3 separate regions of the Homo sapiens genome follow, and all the other regions are linked to region 2. Evidence: promoter capture Hi-C in 16 types of primary human blood cells and fetal thymus (Javierre and others, 2016). All regions are on one chromosome and are shown on one strand. Each heading gives the region's core, a stretch centred on a gene start or on the middle of the fragment in contact. The rest is flanking DNA. Distances are from core to core; before and after follow the strand shown.

Evidence for each region. Contacts are between HindIII fragments. The CHiCAGO score rates a contact against its expected background, and 5 or more counts as called.
Region 1: a fragment that was not itself captured here is called in contact with the fragment with the promoter of RCAN2 in region 2 in 2 of 17 cell types (total B cells and naive B cells); the score reaches 6.0 in total B cells.
Region 3: a contact is called between a fragment that was not itself captured here and the fragment with the promoter of RCAN2 in region 2, in 1 of 17 cell types (megakaryocytes). The highest score is 5.2, in megakaryocytes.

Annotation. Positions count from the first base shown.
Region 1 is chr6:46,233,202-46,237,306 of GRCh38, reverse strand. The region is part of intron 4 of RCAN2 (regulator of calcineurin 2); the gene reads left to right. The region is part of intron 1 of LOC105375079 (a long non-coding RNA gene); the gene reads right to left. Among named protein-coding and RNA genes, the nearest start is that of ENPP5, 64 kb to the right of the region's middle. The HindIII fragment of the contact is 916 bases long and covers 2,105-3,020 here.
Region 2 is chr6:46,489,033-46,493,311 of GRCh38, reverse strand. It overlaps RCAN2 (regulator of calcineurin 2), which reads left to right and starts at 1,863. Exons shown (of 5, transcript NM_001251974.2): 1 at 1,863-2,139. It overlaps RCAN2-DT (RCAN2 divergent transcript), which reads right to left and starts at 1,260. Exons shown (of 3, transcript NR_125837.1): 1 at 1,185-1,260. RefSeq lists silencers at 1,241-1,300, 1,811-1,900. The HindIII fragment of the contact is 5,722 bases long and covers 1-4,279 here.
Region 3 is chr6:46,035,840-46,040,082 of GRCh38, reverse strand. It overlaps a transcript of CLIC5 not described here. Among named protein-coding and RNA genes, the nearest start is that of CLIC5, 22 kb to the right of the region's middle. The HindIII fragment of the contact is 6,541 bases long and covers 1-4,243 here.

The DNA of each region.
Region 1 (4,105 bases), core at 1,313-3,812, 260 kb after region 2:
TGTTGTCTTTTGAGGAGATTCATTGTCAAAGAGACCATGCCTAGAATAACTATCAATGGCCAAAACAAAACAAGGCAAGGTTCAGAAGGAATACATGATCCATCTTTAGCTAGAGAACAAATATTCACTAAAAATATGAGTTGCCATGAAAATGTATTAAAAGTGAAAGACAAAACTAGGCTCCCTTTCAGTAGAGTCGCTTGTAGAATATGTAAACAGTGGGAAGTATGAGAGTTAGGGACAGAGAGGGGCTATGAACACATTCTTTGAAGTCAGGCAAGCCTGAGTTTAAATCCTGGCTCTGCCATTTACTACCTGTGTGATCTCAACTTACTGTTGTATAACTAGATATTATGAAACCCACATGACAGAGCTGTTGTTATAATTAAAGATCTATTTCATGCCAAGTAGTTACAGACTTTCCTGTGCCTGGCATTTAGTAAGTGCTCCATAAGCAATTGTTATTATGTTTAGGGAATGTAGTGAGTTTCTATGACACCTACTGTGTGCTAGCACTGATAGAATGCTGATAAGAGGATAGATGCTTGCCTTTAAATGGTTTTCCACTTAGTTGAAAAGCTAAAACTTACACAAGTTAAACTATAGGAAGAATATTCACGTGTGAGTACATACCAGACATCACTCAAGTATGTTAGTAATGACCAAGCGTGATGCTCTTCATAAATCAATCACATATTCATTGAACACTAATGTGTACCTTAAGCTGCAGCAGTCACAAAAGGTTAAGTCTTGACTTCAGTGGTTTGGAATATAACACATTGCTAGAGGAAATAACTAATGAATAATATCAAAGGTGATATAATTAAGCATTATAAATGGGTGTTTCTATCTCAAAAAAAAAAAAAGAAAATCAGAGATCTCATTAAAACGGCAACATAAGATTTTCTGTCTCATGGAAATAGAGGTATAGAAAAGGTTAGGAAAGAGGAAAAAAAGGAGAGAAAATTGCCAGTGATGACAGAGAAAGGGGAAGTGGTGGTTGGAGGAAAAAGGATAGGTTCATTTTGAAGACCAGATTATATGATACCCACTACCGTGGGATGCAGCCTGTTATCGTTCACCCCTTACTGCTCTTTGCAATGGTGTCTCCACTGAGGAAAAGCTCTTTGCAATTGTTCAGCTGCTTAATTCTTTGACTATTGTGTGATGTAATCAGATTAGTTAATCATACTGGAAACCAGAAATTACTTGGGGGCAACAGTGGCCAAAATAATATCGCCCTAAATAATCATAGCATGCATCTTGGGAGAGGGCTTTATCAAGTATTTGACACATATGTCTGTTTCCTAGTATCCCAGTGATATGAGTGTTGTTCTCATTGATGAGGAAAACTGAGATTCAGAAATGTTATATAACTTTCTCAGAGTCACATTACTCATATGTGATAAGGTGATCTCTCCAACTGTTGTCTTAGGTGGCTTATTCTGGCACGGAAGTTAGTTCCTGTCGTGGGGAAACCAGCAAAGAGTATTTTGGGTGGGAGGGTTAGTCATGGATAGGGTTATAACAAGGGGTGTGTAGGGAAGGAGCATGCAGAGAAGGTTTGACAAGCAATGTTCAATAGTGCTTGGTGACTGATTACAAATGATGAAAGAGAGAGAAAATTCAAGGATGACTGACTCTAAGGATTTGCACCTAGAAGGCTGGAAGAATGATGGCAATTCTAAGAAGCGTGATAGCTGGTAACGGAACCTAGATTGGCAGAGAAAATAATTCTACTTTAGACATGTGAGTTTGGAAAAGAGTAGTCAACTTGTAGAGAGACGTCAGTAAGTCAGGATGCATGTGTGAGATCAGGCCTGGATATGTAGCTCCTCATAGGGCAGGAACTGGGGCTCATGATGAGCAAGAGAAAGAATGTCCTGGAAAGAAGGGCAGCAGGTGCTGAGCAGAGCAAAGCTTGGCCTTGCCTGTTAGATGTGGCTGTATTTTCAAAGCCTCTAGTTCTGGGATTCTATCTATTGCTTGGCAGTACACATACAAAGACTTTGTCCAGCAGGCACTAAACTTATAGGAAGATTTCCCCTTCCTTCCATCATAGAGTTTTTCTTATTAGGAATCTAAATAATGAATCTCAAAAGCTTCTCTAATACATAGACATGTAGCTCTGTTTCATCTCTCTACCTTTACCTTGTCTGAATTTTGCTGATTTTTATAAACTTTGCATAATCATACTGATTATTTTAGAAAGAATTTAAGAGGTGGCCAAGTCATGGCCCGTAAGCCAAGGTGGCATGAGAGAGAAACTCAGTGGCACTTGGACTGCCAGCCACCAACACATTTCTCTGCAATTGTGGCAAGTGAGGTTGTACCATGTCACCAAGTTTCCCAGCCCCTAGTCAGCACAGGGACTCACCCTCCTCCCTCCTGAGAATGGGAAACAGCCCATGGGCACCCTCACTCCCTCCTCCAGTCATAGAGGAATTGGGACATTGTCACAAACCTGTCTCCAGCCACTTGGGAAAAGACGAGACAGAACTTTGGCATCTAATTTAAGCAATGGCCAAACCTCAGTCAGTTTCAAAGGCCTGAATGAGAATTTAACGTTAACCATGTGCTAAAAGGTTTTTCATTTAATTGGCTGAAAGTTTGTTTCATGGAATAGGTAGAAAACCCTGACCAATGCACTTGTTGGTGACTTTTGGTCCTGGCCTCCTTTCTGCACACAAAGGAGAGGACAGTTTCAATACTGGCAGAGGAGTGAGCATGTGATGGGTCAACCCTCTGCTTGTCTTTTCAGAGAAATGCTGGTTCCATTGGTCTGTTCTCACTGCACCATGGTGGGACCTCCCACCCTGTGTGGGTAAGATTTGACAGACTCTCTGTCCCCAGACAAGCCCAGTTGGTCCATGTGCCTGGTGACAGCATTGACGTCAGCCCTTGTGGTAGAGGAAATAGTTGAAGCCCAAAGGGAAAAAGAGGCCAAAAAAAGAAAAATTCAATCCAACAAGACCAAAGCTATTTCTTTTTATTTTGTGGTTCTCAGCAGCTGTTAAGCTTTGCTGGCTTTCGATAGTAAGAAAGTGTCCAAGAATAGAACAGTGCAATGTCAGAGTTAATGGGATCACAGCAATAAAATGTCTCTACTACTGAGCAATCTGATGGTATTAAGTTGATGTGGAAGTTGCTTTGCACCCTGCACACAGAGTGGACTCCCTGCTTGCCCTCCCATTCTGAGTGTTCCCCCAACACACCTATTCTGAGAGGAAAGCAACCACTTCTAAAGTGGTAAATGCATTGCAAAAGAAGTGTCTTCAGGCCGGGCACGGTGGCTCACGCCTGTAATCTCAGCACTTTGGGAGGCTGAGGCAGGTGGATTACCTGAGGTCAGGAGTTCAAGACCAGTCTGGCCAATATGGTGAAACCCCGTCTCTACTAAAAATACAAAAAATTAGCCGGGTGTGATCGTAGGTGCCTGTAATCCCAGCTACTCGAGAGGCTGAGGCAGGAGAATCGTTTGAACCCAGGAGGCAGAGGTTGCGGTGAGCCAAGATCGTGCCATTGCACTCTCCAGCCTGGGCAACAAGAGCAAAACACCATCTCAAGAAAAAAAAAAAAAAAAAAGAAGTGTTCTTCATCTCAGCCAGGGAAAAAAGGTTTAATCAAAGGCCTAGCTTTGTTAGGTGTATTTTATTACAATTTCTTTAAAATGGCCAGCTTCTTGCTAACAGATGGAAAAAGGGGAAGGGTGTCTGAGATCTCCGAATTCTCTGGCCTGAGCCTTGCCCTCATCTCAACCCCAGGTTCTGGGTCTCTGCTGCAGATTCCTTTCTATTCCTCATTTGAGGATGACAGAGGCCATCCCCCTTTCCTCAATGCACTCCCCATCCACAGAGCAATGAATGAAACTACAGTGGCCACCAGTGTTTCTTCAAAAGGGGCTTCCCCTGCAAATGTAAGAACTTAAAAAAAAATTCTATACATAAAAACAAGAATCACCACCATATTTGATGACTCAGCAAACATTTCTTTCTCTGTCTCTCTTTGGATGGTGTCTTTCATTCAGCATTGCAAGAAGTTCCTGAAGGAAAGACAAAATTTGAGAAACCCTGGATGCGGTTAACTCAATCATTGTTCACCGTGG
Region 2 (4,279 bases), core at 614-3,113:
GTGGCTATGAGAACTCAGAAACAGCATCTAGAAAAGTAACAATATCTATATTTGGTGTTAGGAAAATGGCTATGTTGATTTTGGTAACAGCTAACATATATTGAGTATCACTGTGTGCCAGGCACTGTGCTTAGGTGTTTTACATGTATTACCTCATTTAGTTCTCAGATTAAATCCTGTGTTTTTCCAACTTTTCAAAATTTCTGCAATGAATATATTGCTTCTATAAGCTGAAAATTTTATTTGTAAATGTATATTCACAAAATAATAAATAGTCCCTGTTAAGATGAAAGTCATCAGTTTGACGAAGATTCTAGGAAGTACTCACTAATAATAAGTGAGATTTTGTTTAAAGGGTTGGGGATGCTTTACTTGGAAAGAAAGGGGATCCTGGAGTGCATTAGACATGCTAGCTATTTTTACATATTTTAAAGATAGTTAGAAGAGGAATTTGACTTGGTTTCTTTGGCTTCAAAAAGTAAGGGAGAACTAATGATTAAAGGGAGGCAAGTTTTTGCTCAACTTAAGAATGCCCTTTCAGACAATTCTAACCCAAATGGCAATTATCTAAATCAACGACTAATTACAGATTTATGCATCCAGGGGAAGGCTGAACGAGGGGAAGCCTAAGGTCATTTTCAATTCTGAAATTGTGTTTATGTTAATGCAGATTAATCAGAGAGAAGAGCCAACGTCTCGTCTACCTTTTTTTGTTGAAAACAAACAAAACGTGATTGTATGTCAACTTTGGAAAAAAACAACGTAGTGTGGGTAAGTGAAGAATGATTGTGAATGGACTGCTTCAGTGCAATCGTAATATTGTTATCAGAAAATCAAAAGGCATAAAAAGCAAAAAGAAAACGGCTTATTTATGCAGCAATTCGAAAGATGACAGAACACAAACCTGATTTAAATGTTATTCACTCCCTCCCTCAGATTGGTCTGCACACCTCCTTCCTTTAATTTCCCGCACTCTCCTATGATCTTTTGCATAATTCACATTCTCTTGCCATGAGACTCAGTCCTGTTCCTATCTGTGCCACCCGTAAGCCACAGGCTTCCTTACCCATTTGAGTTGCTTTATTCCGTAAAGCAGAGACTTCTACTGGGGTTAACTTTGTTGAGCAACAGATCTACCCTAGATTGCGATTCACCTTCAGTCCCGTTTGCTGTAGGATACCAACCTCCCACTCACTGTGTCATGGCTCTCACACAATAGGATTCCTTGCAGCCCGAACCCTTCTGTCCTCAGGTCTGATGGCTGCAAATCCTGGCAAAGCTGTGAAGCCCGCGCAGGGCACCCTCAGCGGCCTGGGCTGGGCCGGGCGCAGGGCTCCAGCCAGAGGGCGCCAGCGCCCACCAAGCGCAGAAGCCCGGGAGGACCATCCAGGGGCTCCCCGACATTTCCTCAGTTAGCCAGAGTCGGGGGGCTCAGACATCTGGTAAGAAGAGTCTTTCTCCCAGTACTCCCCCACCACAGTTTGCTTCTCTGACCATTTCTTCTGGGCTGTCGCTGCCCCCTCACCCTCAGCTTAGTATGGGACCCCGAGGAGCCTCTTCCCGCTGAGGCCGGGACTCCTGCAGCCAGGCTCCCACGCCAGGTGCCCGGAGGCTCCTGCGCCCTCCCGGGCACCTGAAGTGGAAAGGAGGGGGTGCGGGGCTGAGGGCAGGGTGAGAGCCCCGGAGGTGCGGTGGGTAGGGGACTGGGGAGGGCGCCGGGTCAGGAGGGAGGAGATGAGAAGAGGCCAGACAGGGGCTTTCGGTTTCCCTGGGTCTGATTGGAGGTTGGCCCGATGAGTCGGAGCTGGGGACGCGCCCATCTCCGCCGGCTCCTGCGAGAGCCGCCGGCTCAGCCCCTCCCTGGAGCCGCTTTGTCCCGGGTGACGGCGGCGGAGGTTGCGGGGAGGAGCGGGCAGCAGGCAGAATCCCACTGACCCACGGCGGCAGAGAGAGGGAGGCGGGGCGCGCCGCGCCGCGTACGGCCCCACGCAAAGGCCCGCGGGCACCGCGCCGCCCCCACGCGCTCGCACCGGCGGGCAGGTGAGCAGGCAGCGCCGCGCGCTAGCAGCTGGCCCCCGTAGACGCCCCAGCCGCCGCCTCCGCCTCCGCCTCCGCCGGCGCATCGCGGACGCCCAGCAGGTCGGTTATGTAACCGCGCCGGCCAGGCTCGCCCAGGCACCCCGTCCCGCCGGGGCTGACAGCAGCCCCGGGGTCGTGCCGGGGGTCCGCGGCGGGGATCTGGTCTCCGGGCCGGGTCTGGGTGCAGGGCGGGGGCGGGGGCGGGGGCGGGGGCGGTGGCGGGGGTGGGGGCAGTGGCGGGGGTGGGGTTTGTCTCCAGATCTGTGGTCAGTCCCGGCTGCGGCCGTGGGGACGGAGATCTCCCGCGACCCCCCTCTAGGGGGCGCGGGTCCAAAGGAGCCCCTTCCCCACTGCCCGTGGCCCGGGGGTTTGCCTTCCTGGAAGCAGCAGCAGGTGCATAAGTGAAGGAGCGAGGATGACGCCTGTGATCCCCGGGACTGAGGCTTAGAGAGGGTCTAGAAGAGACTAACTGGATGCAGAGAGCAAAGAAGATCGAGAGATCCCTTCTTCCCAATGCAGAGGCTGGGGAGGGGGTAGGTGCACTGAGGTGCAGCGGGCTGAGAATTGTCCTGCTTGGGATTAGCGGCCTTGGGTCATCTAAAAATAACTTCAAGTTTGAAAAGTGAAATGGAGCGGAGCGCAGTGTGCCGGGTTCGTCCTGCCTGTGGGATGCTTCGCTCCAGAAGTCACCAGAGGGAACAGGCAAATCCCAGCCGCCTGATCCCTCGGCCGCCTCCAGGTCTCGCTGGTTTCCAGGGTGCCTCGGTTTGCCTTTTAGTTAATGATTTATTCTTCGAGGTACTTCTGCCTATTTCTTATCCCAAAATGAATTATAGCAGAATGCATGCTTTGAATCTTTCCTGTTTCTTACAATGGGATAGAGGTGTTCAACTGCCAAATGAAGTTTTTTTAAGTCTCAGTTTAGTAAAAACAAAAGTTTCTGGGGTTCCTTTAATATGCATTCCCACAGTTTTCCACAATTGGAGATGAAGGGATGTCACAGCATTCCAGCTCACACTTCTCTCTCCCTTCAGCCAGAATTTCACTCAACTTATCATGCAGAGGGGAGGCTTTAGGAAATGTAGGACAACTTTAACAGTGCAACTCAAGTTTCACACCTTTGTTATCCTTTATTACATCACTTCAAAACGAAGAACAAATGTACCACAAGGTACCACGCAACACTTGCTAACCGGCCTCTGCATTCTGGGGGCACAGTGAAGTTGGAAATACCCAAAAGCTGGAAAGGATCAAGAGGCAGGTCAGCATTGACTGTCAACTAGGCAGGAGAGTGAGCATTTGGCTGCTTTTCAGTGTAGTCATTGATTTTCTTTAGCCTTAGAGCTATTATATTAAGTATGATCAGCCATTGAGTTCAATTAGTCTAAAATGTGAGTTGCACTTTGCATTCAAATCCACTGCAAATCAAATCAGCATTTACTGAGCATCTACTACCTGAGTCCAGTCCATAGAATTTTGTGAGGGAAAAGTGTTCTCATCTAAAGCTACATGATTCTGAGAGCTCTCAAAATGCTTAGTGTGTGCAGGTCCTCCAGAACTCACCTAAATTTGGGAGGGCATGACTCTTTCTCCAGTGATGAACGTGTAACAGACAGAAGTGGGAACTCGAGAGCTTTCTCATTTGTAAGTGCACATCACGGTGTTAAAAACCACTTGTGTAATCATTTGCAGACAGTCATACATATCACAAATTCTTTTTATTGAGACTAACATTGACAATCACCGAGGTCTCATTTTCCTATTTTACGTTCTGTAGCATCCACTCGATCAATTCAATAATTATTTGTTGAGCACCTCCTGTGTGCTTTGTAGGTCCTGTGCCAGAGGCTAAAAGAATGAGGCCCATGCCTCCCAGAAATCAATTTAGCAGAAAAGGAGAAGAAAATAAATGGTAATGATTCAACATCATGAGTGTTTAATGAAGACAGAAACAAGTTTAATGGGAGCCAACAGAAGAAAGAGTGGAGGGAATCTGGAAGAGTTTAAAGAAGAGTTTACATTTGGTCTGGATCCCAATAGGTGGTAGGAGTTGTCTAGAGAAGGGGCTGGGTATTCCACACTGAAGGAACAGCATACACACATGGCAGAAAGGTCACATTCAGAGGACACCTACATGTTCTGAGGGAAGACAGGAATGTTTAGAAAGGTTTCACTGAAGCTGGATTGTGAATATACCCTG
Region 3 (4,243 bases), core at 850-3,349, 450 kb after region 2:
CTAATCCTTTAAGTATAATAGCTGTATGCTACTGATTAGAAAATGGATGCTGAGAGGTTGGGACCCTGAATCAAAGACACAGCTAAAAAGTGGCAAGGCAGGATCCATATCTACATCTATCTGATTCCAAAGCTCATTGTCTGAATTGCCAGGGTTTACAGTTACTTAACTGATATGCTGTGGTGTTTTAAAGGTTTTTTGTTTACATCTCTTTAGTTGCTATTGAGACTGAACATTTTTCCATGTGCTGATTTATTGTCTGCATTTCCTTATGTGTATGCCCTCCATTTATTTCCTATGATCTCATTTTGAAGAAAAGCTGAATACTGACCTTAATTAGATGAATTCTCTGTTCATTTCTTAAGAGTAGAGCTTCCTTTTTAACATTTATAACTTACAATTTTTTAACTTCCTTACAATCCCTTTTGTTTTTTATTCCAACATATCTGTTTTATTTATAATTATATCTCAGCAAATCAGAAATGTTTTTTCTTCTTTAATTGAAAATAATATGCTTATTTTATTCGTTTTCTTTTTATGTTTATTTTATGCTTATGTTTATTTTGCTTTGACCAAAATTTATTATAATATATAATATGAGGAATGAATCTAATGCCGTCTCTGCACCATGACCTGATTGTCCTCTGTATTAAATACTGATCACTTCTTGCCTATGTATATCTGGTTTTTTTAATGTAATAAGTTCTTATTATGGTCTAAATTTACTTTGGAAATATCTATTGTCTCCACCCATCTTTTTCCTGCTTTTAACTGAATGTCATGATGTTTTGGTAATTGTCACATATTTTAAAATCCAGAAGGTAAATACCAATCCCTTTAGAAAAAATAAATTTAGTATATTTTCCCTCATGTTATTCTGGAAGAATCTTAAAATCAGTGTTTCAGATTTTATAGAATATACTATGGAGATTTTAATTATTATTGTAAGAACAGAGAGTTTTGTTATCTTCAGAATATTTGGCTTTCTATGCATGAATGAGTTATAATTCTTCATTTATAAATAGTATTCTTTTATTCCTATAAGATTGTATCCTTTTAAAATAAGTTTCTTATTGAGAGCTAAATTCTTATGTATGCATTTAATGATATTCTTATCTCCATAGTACATAGATGTTACATCATCATAAGTTATTCATCACCTTAATACCAGGATACAAGTAATTTTAGTGAATTTATCTTTTCCCAACTCATCTGCTTTTGCTCTAACTACAACATCTAGGAAGATAAATAGTTCAGATGCTGTAGCAATTTTCTCTGTTACTTGAAAACAATATCTAAATTAGTATAAACTAGGAAATCTTCTGAAAGCCATAATGTTTCAGAAAGGCATGTCCCCAGATGAACCAATCTGGGAAAGAGAGTGCTAGAGAGAATCTCCAGACACGTGGGTTTTCATTAATGTAGATTAAGTCTGGCTGAGCCCACTAGAACTGACTGAATTTTTCTAAAACTGTTGACATGAAGTAGGGTTTTTATGCCAGTAAACTTCCCTTTCTTAAGTTCTCTCCTTTTCTTTTTCACTCTCATTTCCATTGTTCATGGCTCTTACATGTTGACTTTAGCAGAGTAACAGTGAAGAATGGTGTAAGCTGGAAAATCATCCAAGAGAAGGGCCTCTGGGAAGTCAACCTAATGCAGGCCTGGGTTGTCCCCTTTCTCCCAAGGACAGAGCACAACTAAGGGGATCATGGGGCATGAGGACCCACCTGGGTGGGAAGCACCTCTCTGAAAGGCAGGGCCATTCAGTCTAAAGCCTAGATTTTGTAGTTAGAGTTCAAAATCCATTCATTTATACAACAAATATTATTCAGCCATGCAGTCTGCTAACTGACTGGACAAAACATCTATCTGTGCTTCATTTTTTTTTCATTTATGAAAGTGAAAGGAAAAAATGAAGGCATAGGATCAAGTGAGCTCCTGGGTCCCTTCTACTTGAGAATTAGTATATCTAATACTGAAGAATAGCTACCAGAGGGACTGGGCCAATGAGCTCTACCAGATAATAAGCCAGTATTAGTGAGTCCTATGAATACAAAAAGTCCCACTGAGGCCAATCCCAGGCTCTATCTGAAGGCCTAGGTCTCATCCTCTTTCCCTGAGGCTTATTGTCACTTGCCTAATCTTCTCAATGTAATTGTATTATCTTCCACCCACACAGCAAAATGTCTTTTGGTGAATCCCTACCTGTAACCAAATACCAATCCTTCCTGTGATTCTGTAGTTATTCAGCCCCCTTGTACCTTCAGTTAGCCCGCAATTACCACTTCCCTGGTGCACACCCAAGATAGGTAAGGAATGAATGAATATTCATCCTTGGGCAAATCATCTAACTTCTCCAATTCATGGTTTCCTTATCAATGAATAGTGCTACTGATACTTAATTGGAATTATTGTCCTCAGCATTAAATGACACCTGATTCAAAATAGGGTGCCCAACACATAAAAATTTTACCCATATTATCTTACTTCATACCCAAATAATTCTGTAAGATAATTAGGACAGGTGATATTGCCATCATCTTGGGGCAAAAGGAAATCAGGAAGTTTAAGTGACATGTATCAAGTTTCAAGGTAACTTGGTTCAGCAAACCAAGGAAGCTCTCTGACATTGGTGCCATTCTTTAGGTGATCCATTCACTTATTTATTTATTCATTCCTTTGTTCTTCCATTAATTTATTACTGAGCATAGTCTTTTGGCCCCCTCTCTCAGCCCTTTCCACCCAACAATACAACTGAAGCAATCTGCTCCTTCAAGCTGACTGAGCATGCCATTCAGTGGATAAATTGTGACCAAAAGATTGTAATTTTGATTTTGGAACCAAATCAAGGTTTGGACACAGATATACAAAAGAGCTCTTTAGCATGTTGTAAGTAAAGGGGGAAAAATGAATAATCATTCACCGGCCAGAATGACAGTGATGTCCTTCTTATGATGAAGGTCCTTGGATATGCATGAAGGAAGCAAAAGAAATGACACATGGCATCTGTATGAAAAATATGAAGACCTTTGGTTGAATATGGGTTGTTAAACTAAGGATGAAAAAAAAATGGGGGAAGGTATTTTTTTCTTGCTTGTTCTTCTGGAAGAATCTCAAAATTGGTGTTTCAACTTTTATAGACTATACTAAGGAGACTTTAATTATCTTATTTTAAATTTTTAAGTAAGGAGATAGAGAATTTGGAGTGCAGTGATTCTTAAGAACAAGACTTCCCTTATTATTTTTGAAACAAGCTATCACAATTCTTATACTACAAAACATATAAAGTATGGAAACTACAAACCCTTTGGAATCTACCAGCAAAACATTTGATACTATAAAATGCCACTGAATTCATTCAATAGGTATTCATTATTCCACAAATACTGAGCACATTTCCAGCACTATGTATACACTGTGAATAAATACAAATAACTGTAAGATGTGGTCCTATTCTCAAAGACTTTGCAGTCGGCCTGGCGCAGTGGCTCACGCCTGTAATCCCAGCACTTTGGGAGGCCGAGGCAGGCGGAACACGAGGTCAGGAGAAGGAGACCATTCTGGCTAACATGGTGAAACCCCGTCTCTACTGAAAATACAAAAAATTAGCTGGGCGTGGTGGCAGGCGCCTGTAGTCCCAGCTACTCGGGAGGCTGAGGCAGGAGAATGGTGTGAACCTGGGAGGCAGAGCTTGCAGTGAACCGAGACCGCGCCAACTGCACTCCAGCCTGGGCGGCAGAATGAGACTCCGTCTCAAAAAAAAAAAAAAAAAAAAAGACCTTGCAGTCTAGGTGGGGAGACAAGACAAGAATGAAAGGAAAACTAATAATAAAACACAATTTGGGATTAAACAAAAGGGGTAAAATAAATAAACTGCCAAATAATAAATAGTTGCCAAATGAAACAATAGGAGCGATCCTGAGTTTGAAAGATCGTTAAGAGAAGGCCTCCAAGCAAGGTGGGATTTGAGAATTTGAGCACAAGTAAGGTGCAGGGGAGGCCCTTTGGGTGGGGAGGAGTCATTAAAAACCAACTCTGGGCAGGGCATGCTTGCTCACGCCTGTAATCCCAGCACTTTGGGAGGCCGAGGCAGGCAGATCACAAGGTGAAGAGATTGAGACCATCCTGGCCAACATGGTGAAACCCCATCTCTACTAAAAATACAAAAAAATTAGCTGGGTGTGGTGGCACGCACCTGTAGTCCCAGCTACTTGGGAGGCTGAGGCAGGAGAATCAGTTGAAC